Linked DNA regions of Homo sapiens: region 1 is linked to region 2. Evidence: promoter capture Hi-C in human tissues and cell types (Jung and others, 2019). All regions are on one chromosome and are shown on one strand. Each heading gives the region's core, a stretch centred on a gene start or on the middle of the fragment in contact. The rest is flanking DNA. Distances are from core to core; before and after follow the strand shown.

Region 1 (6,809 bases), core at 2,280-4,779, 520 kb after region 2:
AGAGATTTGGGAATGTAGGTTGTTGTTGTTTTCAGCTAGGCATATTGATGCCCTAAAAAAAATTAATGAGTAAAGCAGGATGGGCAATGGATACAGGGTAATCAAACAGCACGCTCTGACCTAGCACTGTACATGTCCTGAGACTGGAATGAATGACAGCCAGGGTTTCTTACGGACATCTTCATTCTTAATTACTCCCTCTACCAAGCTATTTGAAAAATATCAAGTCTTTCAATGACTGCCTAAAGCTCAATTGTCCGTCATCCTCTTGAGTTAGAGAGCTATCCCTGCTGCCAGGTCAGTGACAGGTATTCACCTTGGAGAAAGATGCTTTTAATATAACAGTAGGGTCAGTCTCATCTCCGGTCAAGAAAAGCTGCTTCTCTCCCCTCATAAAAAGGCATCTCCAAATCAATAGAATAAACTGGATCAATATATTTTTCATTGCCTTACATATCAAGAAGGCAAAAGAGCTTTGCCCTTCTGCACAGTGGAATCTGTATAAGGAAGCTTCGCTACATCCTCGTTGCTTTCCAGTCAGTTAAAGATTCTCCTACACATAGAGGGGGAACAACAGACACTGGGGCCTTTAGCAGGGTGGAGGGTGGGAGGAGGGAGAGGACCAGGAAAAATAACTAAGAAGTACTAGGCTTAATACCTGGGCGATGAAATAATCTGTACAACAAATCGCCGTGACACACGTTTACTTATGTAACAAACCTGCACATGTACTCCTGAACTTAAACTTATATATATATATATAACTATTTAAATTATATATAATATATATTACATACATGTTATATAAATTATATATTATATACATATATTTAAATTATATATATTATTTAAATGCTCACAGAGCACCAATATCCCCAGGTGAGTTTGGAAATGTATCTAGAGCAGCCTCTCTAATCTCACAAGAACAAAACAGCCAAAACATAGGCCTCAATACATCTCTTGCAGTGGGAAACCAAAATATAACTCCCACTAAGCATCTCAGCTTCCTGGAAAGTTAGGCGATGAGTCCACTAAATGAAATTCCACTGAAGACACTCAATGAAAATTTCCAAACCCATAGCCTATGAGCCCTTTACTCTCCAAAAGCACAATTACTCCTTTCATATATTGAACCAGGCACAAAACCACACTCTCAGTTCACACACTCCCTCCTTCTAAAACTCAAGCTGATTCTTAAGAGCAGTGGAGATGGTGACTTTATACATACTAATGTGAATACAGCCTAGAGGCCTTGAGCCTTGTTCCCAGCTGTGTCCCTGGAAGGGAAGGTTGGGGAGTGGGGTAATGAGAAAAATATCACAGACCAGAAAAACAAACATTGAATGCCCATCTCACCAGGCTGAGTTCTAGAAGAAGAGTAGATGAGTTCAGTGAAGAAAATCAGACCTTTTGGGACCTGGTTCCACTTACCTCTCTGGCCTCCCCTCCTGAACTCCCCTCCTCCTTCTCTGCATTCAGCGTGCACATCAAGCGTGCTCCCTCTAGCCTCTGCTTTTATGCATGCTGCTCCCCTGCCTGGAACACTCCCCCACCTCATTCCTGCCCTCCGCTTGGCTAACTCCTATGTGTTCCTTAGGACACAACGTGGACATCACTTCCAGGTTAAAGATCTCACCTCTATGCTTCCGCCATTTCCCTTAGCAAGCACTTGCCATATGTACAGCTATAATACAACTCACACTTGCCTGTTGGTAACATCCTTCCTCTCGACCCCACAGTAAATTCCAAGATGGCGGCAGCTGCGTCAGCCTTGTCCACAGGTGCATCCCCCATGTCTGTGACTGTGCCTGCTACATAGTAGGCACTCATTAGAAGTTTACTGAATCAATGGGTATCTAAAAGCAGGTGCAGGTACAGACAGGTGGCCTCATGTTCTCTCTCAGAGCTGGCTGGCCAGAATTTTCTCCCAGTCACATACCTGGATTCACCCTGATACTAAGAACATGCAAATGAAGGGAATAAAATGTGGATAATTCATGGTATAGCGCCACAACCAGGGAAACAACTCATTAACAGCTCAACAGGTGAAAGGTCAGAAGCATCATATTGTACGCTGGCAATTGATGTGTCTGTGTGAGTTTCTTTGTAGATTTGAGGGAAGGGTTGTTTGTCTTTTCTTTTGTTTGCAAGTATTTCTGTATTATTTTCTTCCTCTGATAAGTTACAGCTGGTTTTGTTCCAGGAAATTTTAAACATTTTGTATAAATTCAACCACCAACATGACTTTAAAAACGGATAAGCATACCAAAATCACTGTGGTCCAAGAGAAATCACGACAGCCTTTTGTCATTAAAATAGAAGTACATACTATCACGTTGGGAGAATCTCAACAAGCCAGCGGGAGAAAAGAATGGGGAAAAAGCATAAAATGAGTTGTTTTGCTTCCGATTCAAGGCTGTCTCCCCACAGGCAGAACAAGTCTGGCTGAATCAAAATCTATGTTCCAGGGTATTAGTTTTCTTATCCGAATCAGGCTGTAGGTAACTTGGGGACATCTTTCTCTCTCCTTCAAATAACACCACTAACAGCACCCGTGAATGTTAATGTCGCACTCACAAGCCTTCCATAGCACTAGATCTAAAACTCTCTTAAAACAGTTACCACACCACTTGGCTTTGAAGACATAATAAGTATATGTATCTGTCGCTTCAACCAGTTGTGAACTCCTAGAGGGGAAGAGAGACCACTTCCTTCCACCTTTGAGTCCTACATAACACCCAGCCATTCAGCACATGGTATGCGTAGGTCTCCTGATACTTCTTTGGAGGTGGGAATGTCAAAGAGAATTGGAATTTTAAACATTTAATTGGGGCTCACTAAATATTTTTGACTTTTTAAATGATGTTTAATTCCATGAAAACAACAGCATTCAATTCTAGTAATTATGCTTTTGATTATTTCCCCCCCATATCTTATGACTGTTTTGACACTGTGTAGCTTGAGTATTTTTAAATAGTTATGAAATTGCTTCAAAATCCCATTAACTTTTACCTTTTATCTAGTGTGCTTATTCTTTTAATCCATGAAATTTGGCTAATGGAAATTGATTTATTTCTTCTAAGTGTAATTTTCTTGCCACATCTAACCCACATCCTATGTTACTAAGCTTATAGGTTTGTTATGTAGTCATTTCTGGTGTTAAGTTTGTAAATGATGCTTATATTTCTTATACCTGAAGAATATTGCTTTGCTATCTTTCCAGGAGTAATTAATCTATAATATCTCAGTTCATTTCAATGGGATTTTCACGGTTTTTTTTTTCAGCAGAAAACTAAGTCAGATCATTACTGTCTCATTCAACAAATATTTAAATGCTCCAGATCTCTAAAGGTGATTGTTGCCATTGCCATTTATTGCAATGATTTAGGAACTATTCACTATGTAAAACTGACCTTAGTACTACACTGTGGGAAGGAAGATACCTTGCTTATGCTTGTCTTTGAAAACTCTTACGTGCTATTAACTAGCCATGTGACCTTAGGCAAATCACTGGATATCTCTGAGCTTTAGTTTCCATATCTGTACCTAAGTCACAGATGTCCACTGCATAATAGGGGGTTAAATAAGAGTTTATCTTCTCTTATCATCTTCCTAAAGTAGCTCCTTTCTTCCTATTTCTATTTTATATCCTAAAGGTCTTATTGTCAGACTACTTAATGCTACTTTAATAGGGTCCTTTTAATGGGAGACTCTGAAAGTCTGAAAAAAAATTAATGTTCAAAAGATATGAATGTTGGGCATCAGGAGAGGTGAGAGGGGAGAATTCAGAGGCCAGAGGTACCTCCTGGCCCATCAAACTACATTGTATTGGGCTATGCTTTCTGCCCTTATCTAAGGGCCTGTCCTCTGGGCTCATTCTTACAGTCAAGCAAAAAGAGAACAAAAAGATTGGTTTTTCAGGATATTTGATAGTAAATGAGTCACTTGGGAAACAGTGCAACTTCCCTCTGAATTTTGGCCACAGGGTTCCATACCACTGTAATGAGGAGAAAAGAGAGCAAGATTTTTTAAAAATCTTTAAAAATTAAAGACATTATGGACTCTCAGAAGCAGGTGCCCTACTGGCTATCAGCACATTACTCTTTTGGGGTCCCATTGTCTTTAAAGCTTTAACATGGAGTACTTTGAAATTCAACGATAAAATAAGATGATGGGTGTGGTCAGGTGTATCTTATAGCTTTTCAATTCTCCTGTAATGTGGAGATTTTCTATGAGGATTTTTAAATGCTTCTTACTTTTATTAAGTGTCAGTTCTGCTGCTCAGCGGTAATTAAACTGAAAGAAAAATGTCAAGAATGATAAATTACTACTACAGGTTTATTCTTTCTTTTTTTTCAGAAACTAGTCAGCCCTGTATCATGAGATTCAAAAATATTAACTTTGAGGATATTGAAGAAGAAAGCCTTCCTACTATGTTATTTTCAACAAATGCTGTCTCAAATCCACGTAAATTTTAATGTCTAGGATTTAAATATAATCCATGGTGTCTGAATACCCCCATGTTTATTCAATTTCATTTGGAACTACTTGACCCTGCAGAAGTAAGCTACCACAGCTGAAACAGGCATACGTGGCCAAGTTCGTTATTTGACTAAGAGTCAATAACTTTATATTTCAATATTTAACATAGAGAATGAGGTGGGGGTTAGTGAATAATTTTTCTGAATCAAGTCAATCATCATTAAAGTTTTTTAGAGACAGTTTTCCAAGTGTCTCTGGTATTTTCATCCAAATAGAGCCTTAGGGATCATGAGTAAGAGCATTAAAAGCCAATTACTTTTCTAAGCATTATATTCCAGACTTGAAGTCTCCTTATTTGAGATAATTACATTTCGAGCTTATTTCTCAAACAAATAGAAGTCAAGATAATAAGCAGGATGGAAGTACAGAGCAATTTAAAGACCACCCCCCCCCCCAACAATTGATTAGTTTTGGATGATGGTATCCCATTTCAAGGAGGGAATATGTAAAATCTAGAAATATAGTTTTCAAATCATCAATATTAATAAAAATGTACCCATTTTTCTTACAGAAGCATTACATCAGTCCAATTGAGTTAGACACATCACTGCCTCACTCTCAGCCAAAACTAATTTCCAACATTTAGTTGGAGACAATAATTCCTGTAAAAGTAGCTGAGAGGTAAGAGAAACAACCTACAATAAGACATGGTTTCTGGGAAGTATAGACCCTCCACATGTAAAGATTTGTGTGTGGAAGCCAACAGAGAGGAGCCTTGGTGACTGTGTACATTGGGAATTGTGATGTTTCATGTGTTACATAAATCAAGGAGTTAAAAATATTAGGTAACAAGAATATTAGGAAATAAGAAAGATTTCTTTTCTTCCTTGGTATAATAGAGTTTTACTAGAAGAATACCTTCTGGATAATGAGAATTGAAATGGGAACTGTGCGCATGAAAGAACTTGGAAATGGATATGAAGGGATTTGAATATTACCAAGTTAATGGTCAATTAAAGACTATGCCTTTCCACCCACATCCAGCCGCTGTACGTTTGAGAAGCTCAAGACTAAATAAATCTCACTTTGACAATAAACAAAGAGGAAAAATTCACACTTGGAACTATAGAAAGAAATTTCAGAGAAATAAAAATTAAAAATATTCTAAAGACTACAAAGAAGAGTAGACTCTTAAAATGATTGACTTTTGTAAATAGAAGATATTGACTGATTTGATTGATTGATTTAAATCAGTATTTATTTCATAAAATATAGTCCACACTTGCACTACAATAAATGTTAAGAAAGTTCTACAAGTAGAAGGAAAATGATAACATTAAAATTCAGATTTACAGAAAGGAATAATGTGTGCTGGAGGTGGTAAATATGTAAGTAAATAAAAATATTTTTTCTCATTTGTTCATTTGTTTTATGCTTAAAGCAAAATAACAATAATGTATTGTGAAGTTTAGAACATATGCAGAAATAAAATATATGACAGTGAAAGCCCAAAGAATAGGGAGGGGATACTAAAATTTTGCTGCTGTAAGAGTCTGCATTTCATGTGAAGTAGTGTAATAGTATTTCATAGTAGGCTCTGATAAGTTTTAAAATGTGTATTCTAAACTCTAGAGCAACCACTAAGAAAAATAGCAAAAAGAATAGCAAATAAATCAATAGTTGAAATAAAATACTTAAAATTACTTAATATAAAACAAGGATTTTAAGGAGGAATATAAATAGTGTAACAAATAGAAAACAAATATGAGAAAGTTGATTTAAACTCAACCATATTAATAATTACATTAAATATAAATGGTCCACCACTCTGATTAAAAGCTAGAGATTATCATTTAACTGAAAAGCTTCATCATTGTCAGCTTCATTATCCTATTTAAAGAAATTCCTAACTGATACAGATAGATAAGTCAGTAGTTCTTTCTAGAACAATTAGTTTACCTTTCAGAAACGAAAAATGAAATTAGATCCCACCTTGGACATTAGAGAAACATAAACTTGAAATAAATAAATAAGTTGAATTTAAAAAGTAAAATCATGAATTAACTAGATCAGGATTTATTTGATATTAGGATACATTTTTTTAAGCAGTGATAAAAACAGAAACCATAAGGGCATACTTTTAATATAGCAAAACTTCAAATGTTTTGCCACTCCAAGCAGACAATGCAACAGAGAAGAAATACAGATGGCTAAAAAACAGGGACAAAATATGCTTCATCGAGAAGACAATTTTTAAATATCTAATTGGAAAAGATTTTTAAAAGCATGACATTATTCAATACTCATGAGAACATATGGAATCAGGC
Region 2 (7,481 bases), core at 2,301-4,800:
TTTTACTCTCTCAATGATCCCATTAAGTTCTGAGTAAGCTTAAGCCACACCCATAAAACGTCCTCTGTTGATTAATTCCCAAATACAATTAAAGTGGAACAAGATCTTACTTGCAAAGTAACCTTTCCAAAAAAATCTCCTAGATATTTGTAATCTCCTCCTCCCATATTTACAACTGTCTTATCTTCATCTAATTGGATAGCATTGTTTTATCGATTACCTTTAAAGAATCTTTCCCAACCTTCAAATTCATTATCATAGAAATAAAGGTATTTTCTTGTTGCACTTGTATTTGGTTTACACAATATTGTGTAACATTAATAATATATATAAACAAGTCTGTAACTACTGTGGATCAGCACCTGACAGGTAGGAGCAAATATGCAAAGGCTGTTCTAAGGAGAGGCTGGTAGTTTCTAGATTTCAGCTGGTCATAGGCATCAGTCAGGTTGTACAGAGAGAACAGAGTGACTGCTAATCCAGTAACTGATAAATGGAAGCCAGCCAGATAAGATCGTTTTTTATTGTATTCCCAATTTACAGACTGAGAAACTGGGGTACTGAAAACTTAGGTAATTTAACTTCACAATAGCTGGTAAAACCCTTAAAGGCGATAAGGAATACATGGTTATCGGAAAATTCTGTAGTATTACCTGGGGGTTAGAGTGAAAATGGTCTATTACATTCCAGTCAATACTGATGTGCTGGAAGTATACTGGAGGTATAGATAGTTAAACCTGACTCAGGGAAGTGTTTGCCAAAGAAGGAATGCCATCAACCAGGCAGAAGAAGGAGCAGAGAATGATTTGGACAGAAGAACCATTTGCAAGAGGGCTGAAGGCAAGAGTACAGCTGGGAAGAGAATTGCAAGTAGCTCCTAGAGTAGGAGAAAAATGATGAAAGACAATGAATTAAAGAGATAAATAGAGGCTCAATGCCAAAACAAACAAACAAAACTGTATAAGTCACTCTAAAGAATTTGAACCTTATTCTCAAGACACTAGGAACCCAAGAAAAGAACTGGTCAGTTGAGTCACAGGCTCAGATTTGACCTTCAGAGATATCACTTAACTGCCCTGAGGAGAAAGCAGTGGAATGCCTGATAGGTGGCAAGAGCTGCTGGTGGTCTGGATTTGCATAATTTCTACAGAGAGAAGATACATTTAGGAGCTAGCTTTAACATGACTTGCTAATTGATTGACTCTGGTGGTGGTGGTGGTGGTGGTGAGAATGAAGTAATGTTAAGGTGACTTTCAGGTTTCTGGGGCATTCATCTGGATGGAGGGAAGTATCCACTCTTTAAGACAGTGAATTCAGGAGGAAACAAGTCAGTTTCAAGGGTGGTGAAATTTAATTCTAGACATGTTACATTTGAACATCCAATTTTTAATGACCTGTGGGTAATTGCACATATGGATTTCGAGTTTAGGAAAAAGACCTGGGCTGAAATATGGATGTTGTATATGTCAGCATGTAAATGTAAATGGAATTCATGGAAGAAGATGAAATTATACAAGGAGAATAAAGAATGAGAAAAGGAAATGAGCCAAAACTCCCCAAAATGGTAGCACATTTATATCCCTGTCATATGTCTCATGTCTCAAGAGCAAGCCTCCATACTGATGTTACCTTGCTTATGCATAATGGCATGTGTACAATGGAATCTTTCTTCTTTTTAAAAACTTCAATGAATTATACCTAATTTTCCTTGTATGAAATAGATGGGGGGCCGGGTGTGGTGGCTCACGCCTGTAATCCCAACACTTTGGGAGGCCAAAGCGGGCGGATAGCCTGAGGTCAGGAGTTAGAAACCAGCTTGGCCAACATGGTGAAACCCTGTCTCCACTAAAAATACAAAAAAATTAGCCGGGTGTGGTGGTGGGCACCTGTAATCCCAGCTACTTGGGAGGCTGAAGCAGGATAATTGCTTGAACCCAGGGGGTAGAGGTTGCAGCGAGCCGACATCGCATCACTGCACCCCACTCCAGCCTGGGTGACAGACTGGAGTGTCTCCATCTCAAAAATAAAAAAATAAAAAAAATAAATAAAAATAGATGGGGGATACTGAGCTGGAAAATCCTTACTATGACTGTAGTGTGTTTTGTCTACTCCCAAGCAGACAAAATCATAAATTCAAAACCAAGGTGCCATCATTATAGATATTTTCTAATTATAATTATACATCATCCAAAAAGGTAGTAGCGTTGTTGTTAATGGTAGCTGGAAATAAGAAAATGGGATACCATATCTAAAATAGGGTGTGTTAACTTCAAAGTGAGTCTTTTCCTTCCCCCGTAAGTGGGAGTGATTTGCTACAGTGAAAAATCAATGGGCCTTAGAGTCAGGGTTAAAGTCTCAACTCCACAAGCTATCTCCACTCCTCAATCATGAGCAGTTTACGCAACTCCAAGGACAGACAAGCTTGGGCAGACAGCATGCAATAAACAATGTATAGAAGTGAAAACTTACTTTAAGCTTCCAGGGTTTGTTTTTTGGTTTGTTCATGTTTTCTGTCTTGCTTTTATTTTTATTTTTTTTGCAACAAACACATTAGTTACGTTCTCTAGGTCTATTTCCTTACCCAGAGGAGGAAGGCCCCTTAGCACATGATCTCTGCGGTCTCCATTAGTTTCAACATCTTGTGGCGCTGATCACCTGTAAGTTAAGGAACAAACTTCACTGGGAAGTCCTGTAGCCTGAATCCAGCCCCAAACATCCACTCCCCCAGCTGAGGAGGCCGGGAGGTACTTTTACCCTGGTAGCATTCTCAATCAACATGTGTCATTACTCAAAGCGCAAGTGGACCAAGGTGCATATACTAATTTTTTCCTCCAAGGTCTTAGTTTTCATTTTACTTTGAAATGTCACTGTGACTACTTTTATTATTACTATTACCAGGAATCTATGATTGCCATCGAGGTCTATTAGAAGGTCATCTCCCATCCCCCACCCCGCCCAGCTTTATCCAGTGCACGAAGGCTGGCTATTTGTAATTCAATATACACTTTCCAAAACCACGAGTTTTACGTTTTATTATTGTTTTTACTTTTGAAGCCGATGTATGGGGGAACACCCACCAGCATTAACGTTGAAAGAGCTGTTTTCATTGAAACCACTCTTTCATCTGTGGATGGTAGGATAATTTATCAGTGTCTTTAATTTGGAATTGAAAAGTTTCCTGAAAACACTGCTAATTAAACTTTACTTCCCTGAAGTTCTCCTAAATACCTCCAACTCCGAGAACTAGCCCAGTATTTGCTCACTTCCTTTTGCCTTTCAACTCCATTTGATATATGTTTCCCACGACGTAGTGGAGACTTCTGGCTGGAGAGGCTGGAAAATATAACTCTGAATTTCCTACAATCTCAGCTCCACTTTCTCCCGCGCGTAGGCCCCCGGCTGGAGCGGTGTTATTGTCACGTGGCCACGGGGACGCCCGCAGCCGAGTCGGCCAATGGGCGCGCGTCGGCCTCTACCCGCCCGCCTTGCTACTCCGCCGCGCGGGGACTTGGCGCAGTGCCGCGGGGTGGAGGCGAAAAAGTTTCTTTTGCAGACAAGAAGGGGCTTCGGCGAGCCGACGCTGCTCAAGCTGCAACTCTGTTGCAGTTGGCAGTTCTTTTCGGTTTCCCTCCTGCTGTTTGGGGGCATGAAAGGGCTTCGCCGCCGGGAGTAAAAGAAGGAATTGACCGGGCAGCGCGAGGGAGGAGCGCGCACGCGACCGCGAGGGCGGGCGTGCACCCTCGGCTGGAAGTTTGTGCCGGGCCCCGAGCGCGCGCCGGCTGGGAGCTTCGGGTAGAGACCTAGGCCGCTGGACCGCGATGAGCGCGCCGAGCCTCCGTGCGCGCGCCGCGGGGTTGGGGCTGCTGCTGTGCGCGGTGCTGGGGCGCGCTGGCCGGTCAGACAGCGGCGGTCGCGGGGAACTCGGGCAGCCCTCTGGGGTAGCCGCCGAGCGCCCATGCCCCACTACCTGCCGCTGCCTCGGGGACCTGCTGGACTGCAGTCGTAAGCGGCTAGCGCGTCTTCCCGAGCCACTCCCGTCCTGGGTCGCTCGGCTGTAAGTATTCTTCCCGCGGGGGGAGGGGGCCCGGGCCGCTGGAGATTCGAGAAAACAGGAGCCGGCGGGGAATGGGGTTCGGCGTGCAGTCCCCTTTTTGCCGTATAGCTCCTTCTGGCCCAGGCCGCGATCGGCGCTCCGTGGGCGTGGAAAAAGAACTGTCCGGGCCTCAGTTTCCCTCCCACGTGCTTTGCGGGCGGCGCAGGTGGGCTCTTGGCGCGTCCTAACTGGCTGCAGGTAGACCAGGGTTGGGGGCCAGTAACGACGCCAGAGATTGGGGATGAAGTCCTGCGCCCTAAGCTAGCCAAGGGGTTCAAATGCTTGCTCCTGCCAGGCCCAGGGGAGATAAGCGGCAACCTGCACACATCAGGAGTTTGCAGTTCTCGCTGAGTTATGAGTCTGGTTCAGTTTTAGTTTCTAGCTGCGTCAGACTCCTTTTCCTGTTCCCACCCAGTAACTGAAGTCAGGCTTTTCATTTGGGAAGCCCCCTCAACAGAATTCGGTCATTCTCCAAGTTATGGTGGACGTACTTCTGTTGTTCTCCCTCTGCTTGCTTTTTCACATTAGCAGACCGTAAGTTCCCACTCCTCAACCAGATTGTAAAGACTGGTCGGTAGCTATGGAAAGGGCGGAACTCGATTATCCAGAATCAAGGGCGTGATTTCTGTAGCTCCTCAGAACGCCCAGACGGTTTAGGGGAGAGCGCAGGGAGCTCTTATGCAAGTTTTTGGATTTTTAGCTGCGAAGTCTGAAAACCTGAAATCACTGCCAACTGCGTGAAGAACAAGGAAGAAAATGTAATTTAGTTGGAAATGCTGATCTTTTCCAAATGTCATCTCTTTTCTTCCTCAGTCCCAGTTTTAAAATTGGAGTGCTGTAAAAAGTAAACAATCAAAATTTGTATTTTTTAAAGTAGTTGTTCTGTTTAAAATAAAAGTGCACTTCATACGTAATCTTATATTTTGACTTAGCAGAATTGCAATGAAAATTTTAAGTTTTTAAAACAATTCTAGTGAACTATTCCAATGCCCTAATGTGGTAGGAGGTTTGGTCAGGTGTTTAAGAATTTATATTTTAAAATTATTGTGCTAATCTAAATAACTTTTGTGAATGTAGAATTGTTGGCCATCAGAAAGTATATTCCTTGTGTTTTTAATAAGCCTTAGTTTAATAAAGTAGAATTAGTATTGGATTGATATTTAATTTCTTGGGACGTTTTATTTAGTAGTTTTTATTGCAATTGGAAGAGGAGATAAGGTCTTTAACCGAAAGCAGGGAGACTTTCAATTAGTTGTGGCTAATTCTGTTAAATTGCCTCTTGTGGAGGTCATGCTGCCTTATTCATGAGTGAATGGCTCTATTGACAACATATGGAACTGAACATGTAAATGACTGGAGGTGAACACTTAGGAATAATAGAGGGATGAGAAAGAGAAAATGAATACAGTGCTTCCTGGAGTGTATTTAGATATGCTTAGATTATTCACGGCATCTAACTTGTATTCGATAGTTTTTCAATGTCAAGTTGTCTATTGTGATCATGCTAGTGTGCAGTACTTTTTTTCTTTTTTCCTGGATTTAGATGTTTAGAAAAAAAATCTGTGTTGCCCTTGATCAGAAGTTGAGTTGAACCAAAAGGGGTTCGATACCTATTTAAACATTGTCTTAAAAGTAGCTGACCTAATTAGGATTTTGTTTTGCAGATAATTTGGTGGCACACTAAAAACAAATTAGAGTTTATTTGGTTAGCACAGTCTTTAATTACATTTCCACCAGCAGTAAATTGTCTCAATACTAGCCCACATTCCTTAAATGTATGTGAAAATAAGTTCCACTTGTATAAATAAGCACTCAGTCTGTTGTCAGGAACCCTGCTGTGATCACTTATTGGACAGCTCTGTCATTCCTGTACTTCTGTGACTTTTAACCATCTTTGTAGGTGTCACCAAACCATGTGGTCTGGATTCTTTATTGTAAATATTTCTTTTGTTTGTACCTAAAGCTCTAGAGGTCTCCTCTTTCCACTTTTGAAAGGAGCAGAAAAACACGTGGAATTGAGTTTTACTTTCTCTGTTATTTGGTATTTTAGAATAGGTGGTCTAAAAAGCTACTAAAGTTTTTCGTAATTAGAAAAATCGTCTTAAGGAGATGATTTCCGAGTTCAGATATAAATAGAAAAATGCATGTTTTTGTTCCCCATATCTTACCTTCCCTTTCCTTGGGTAATCAAAATAGTAGGAGTTTGTCTTTGGACTGGCTTATGAAAGCACTTTTCAGAAAAAGTTCAGTGTCTATCTTTTGTTTCATTTGTTGAATTTGCAAGTTTAAGAAAAATTACGTGTGTATGTATTTTTTCCACTTTATTTGGTTGTGATTTATTACTATAGGAGTCCCATGTGTGAAAAGTCGAATAGTTTGAGCTGTAAAATAATAATACTGTATCAGTACTCCTTTTAGAAAATAACCTCTAATGCTTTAATGAAAGTGGCTCTTAAAGAGTAACTATGTGAGCGAGACTTTGTCTAAAAAAAAACAACCCAGTAACTACGCCAAGCCTTGCTCACAACTGCCATTAAAGGCAAGCTAGAGTTTATGTCAAGAGTTTGCGCTTAAACAGTTCTCAACCTAAAGAGGAATGCTTGTTAGAATGTTATTTAGCCCAGAGACGGAAAAGTTGCTAAATTGCCAATGAGAACTTCCAGTATTATTAAATTCTCACTGGCATTTCAGAATTATTTGTCTTATGTAGAAATGTTTGAGTTCTCAACAGGACCCAGGCGAAAGTCCCAAAGGTAGTTTCTGCTGGTGTGACTTCTTTAGTGTTGACCTGTTATAAATCTTATGGTCCGGACCACAGTTGGGGGTGGGGTGGGGGTAATAGTCCTTATGGTTTTCACAGCTGTTTTTCTGTATTTTCCAGACTAAAACTTGAATATAGCAGGCTGATTTATGAGTCACTTTGGATCAGTGTCTTAAAACAGCTATAGCCTGGCTTTTTGTTTTTCAGCTTTCCAGATTTGTGCTGAATTAGCAGCTCTGCAGGCCCCAGTGGGATTGCTTAAGAAGCTGTGCTGGATTTGCATTTAAAATTTGACTTGGAAGTCAGATTTCCAAATGCTAAAAGGAAGAAAATGACAGCTTGAACCAAATGTTGCAAATTGATTATTTTCATATATATTTATTCATTTGCTAATATTCAGGAAGAGAGAAGTCTGTCTAACCATATAGAAAGAGTTTGACTTTCAAGTGTTGGCCAGCTGAGCTCTGGGTACAGTTAACACTTCCGTACCTTACTACCTTTCCCATTCATTAACCCCACTACAAAAAGTTTTTGTAAAAGTTTTGTGGGGAAGATGCTATTAATGGAACTCTAAACATGAAGAATCTGCCTTTCTTATTGAATGTTTTATGATCTGGGTTTAAGAAA

The links. Contacts are between HindIII fragments. The study calls those that stand out against the background at their distance.
Region 1: a contact is called between a fragment that was not itself captured here and the fragment with the promoter of LRIG3 in region 2, in 1 of the 25 tissues and cell types used here (mesenchymal stem cells).

What each region holds. Positions count from the first base shown.
Region 1 is chr12:58,401,457-58,408,265 of GRCh38, reverse strand. No RefSeq gene overlaps it. Among named protein-coding and RNA genes, the nearest start is that of LINC02403, 320 kb to the right of the region's middle. The HindIII fragment of the contact is 3,419 bases long and covers 1,820-5,238 here.
Region 2 is chr12:58,916,573-58,924,053 of GRCh38, reverse strand. It overlaps LRIG3 (leucine rich repeats and immunoglobulin like domains 3), which reads left to right and starts at 3,550. Exons shown (of 19, transcript NM_153377.5): 1 at 3,550-4,054. The coding sequence starts at 3,819. LRIG3-DT (LRIG3 divergent transcript) reads right to left here and starts at 3,350. Exons shown (of 6, transcript NR_183518.1): 1 at 3,264-3,350; 2 at 2,582-2,655. RefSeq lists silencers at 2,666-2,775, 3,394-3,503, 3,924-4,003 and an enhancer at 4,384-4,653. The HindIII fragment of the contact is 9,447 bases long and covers 1,231-7,481 here.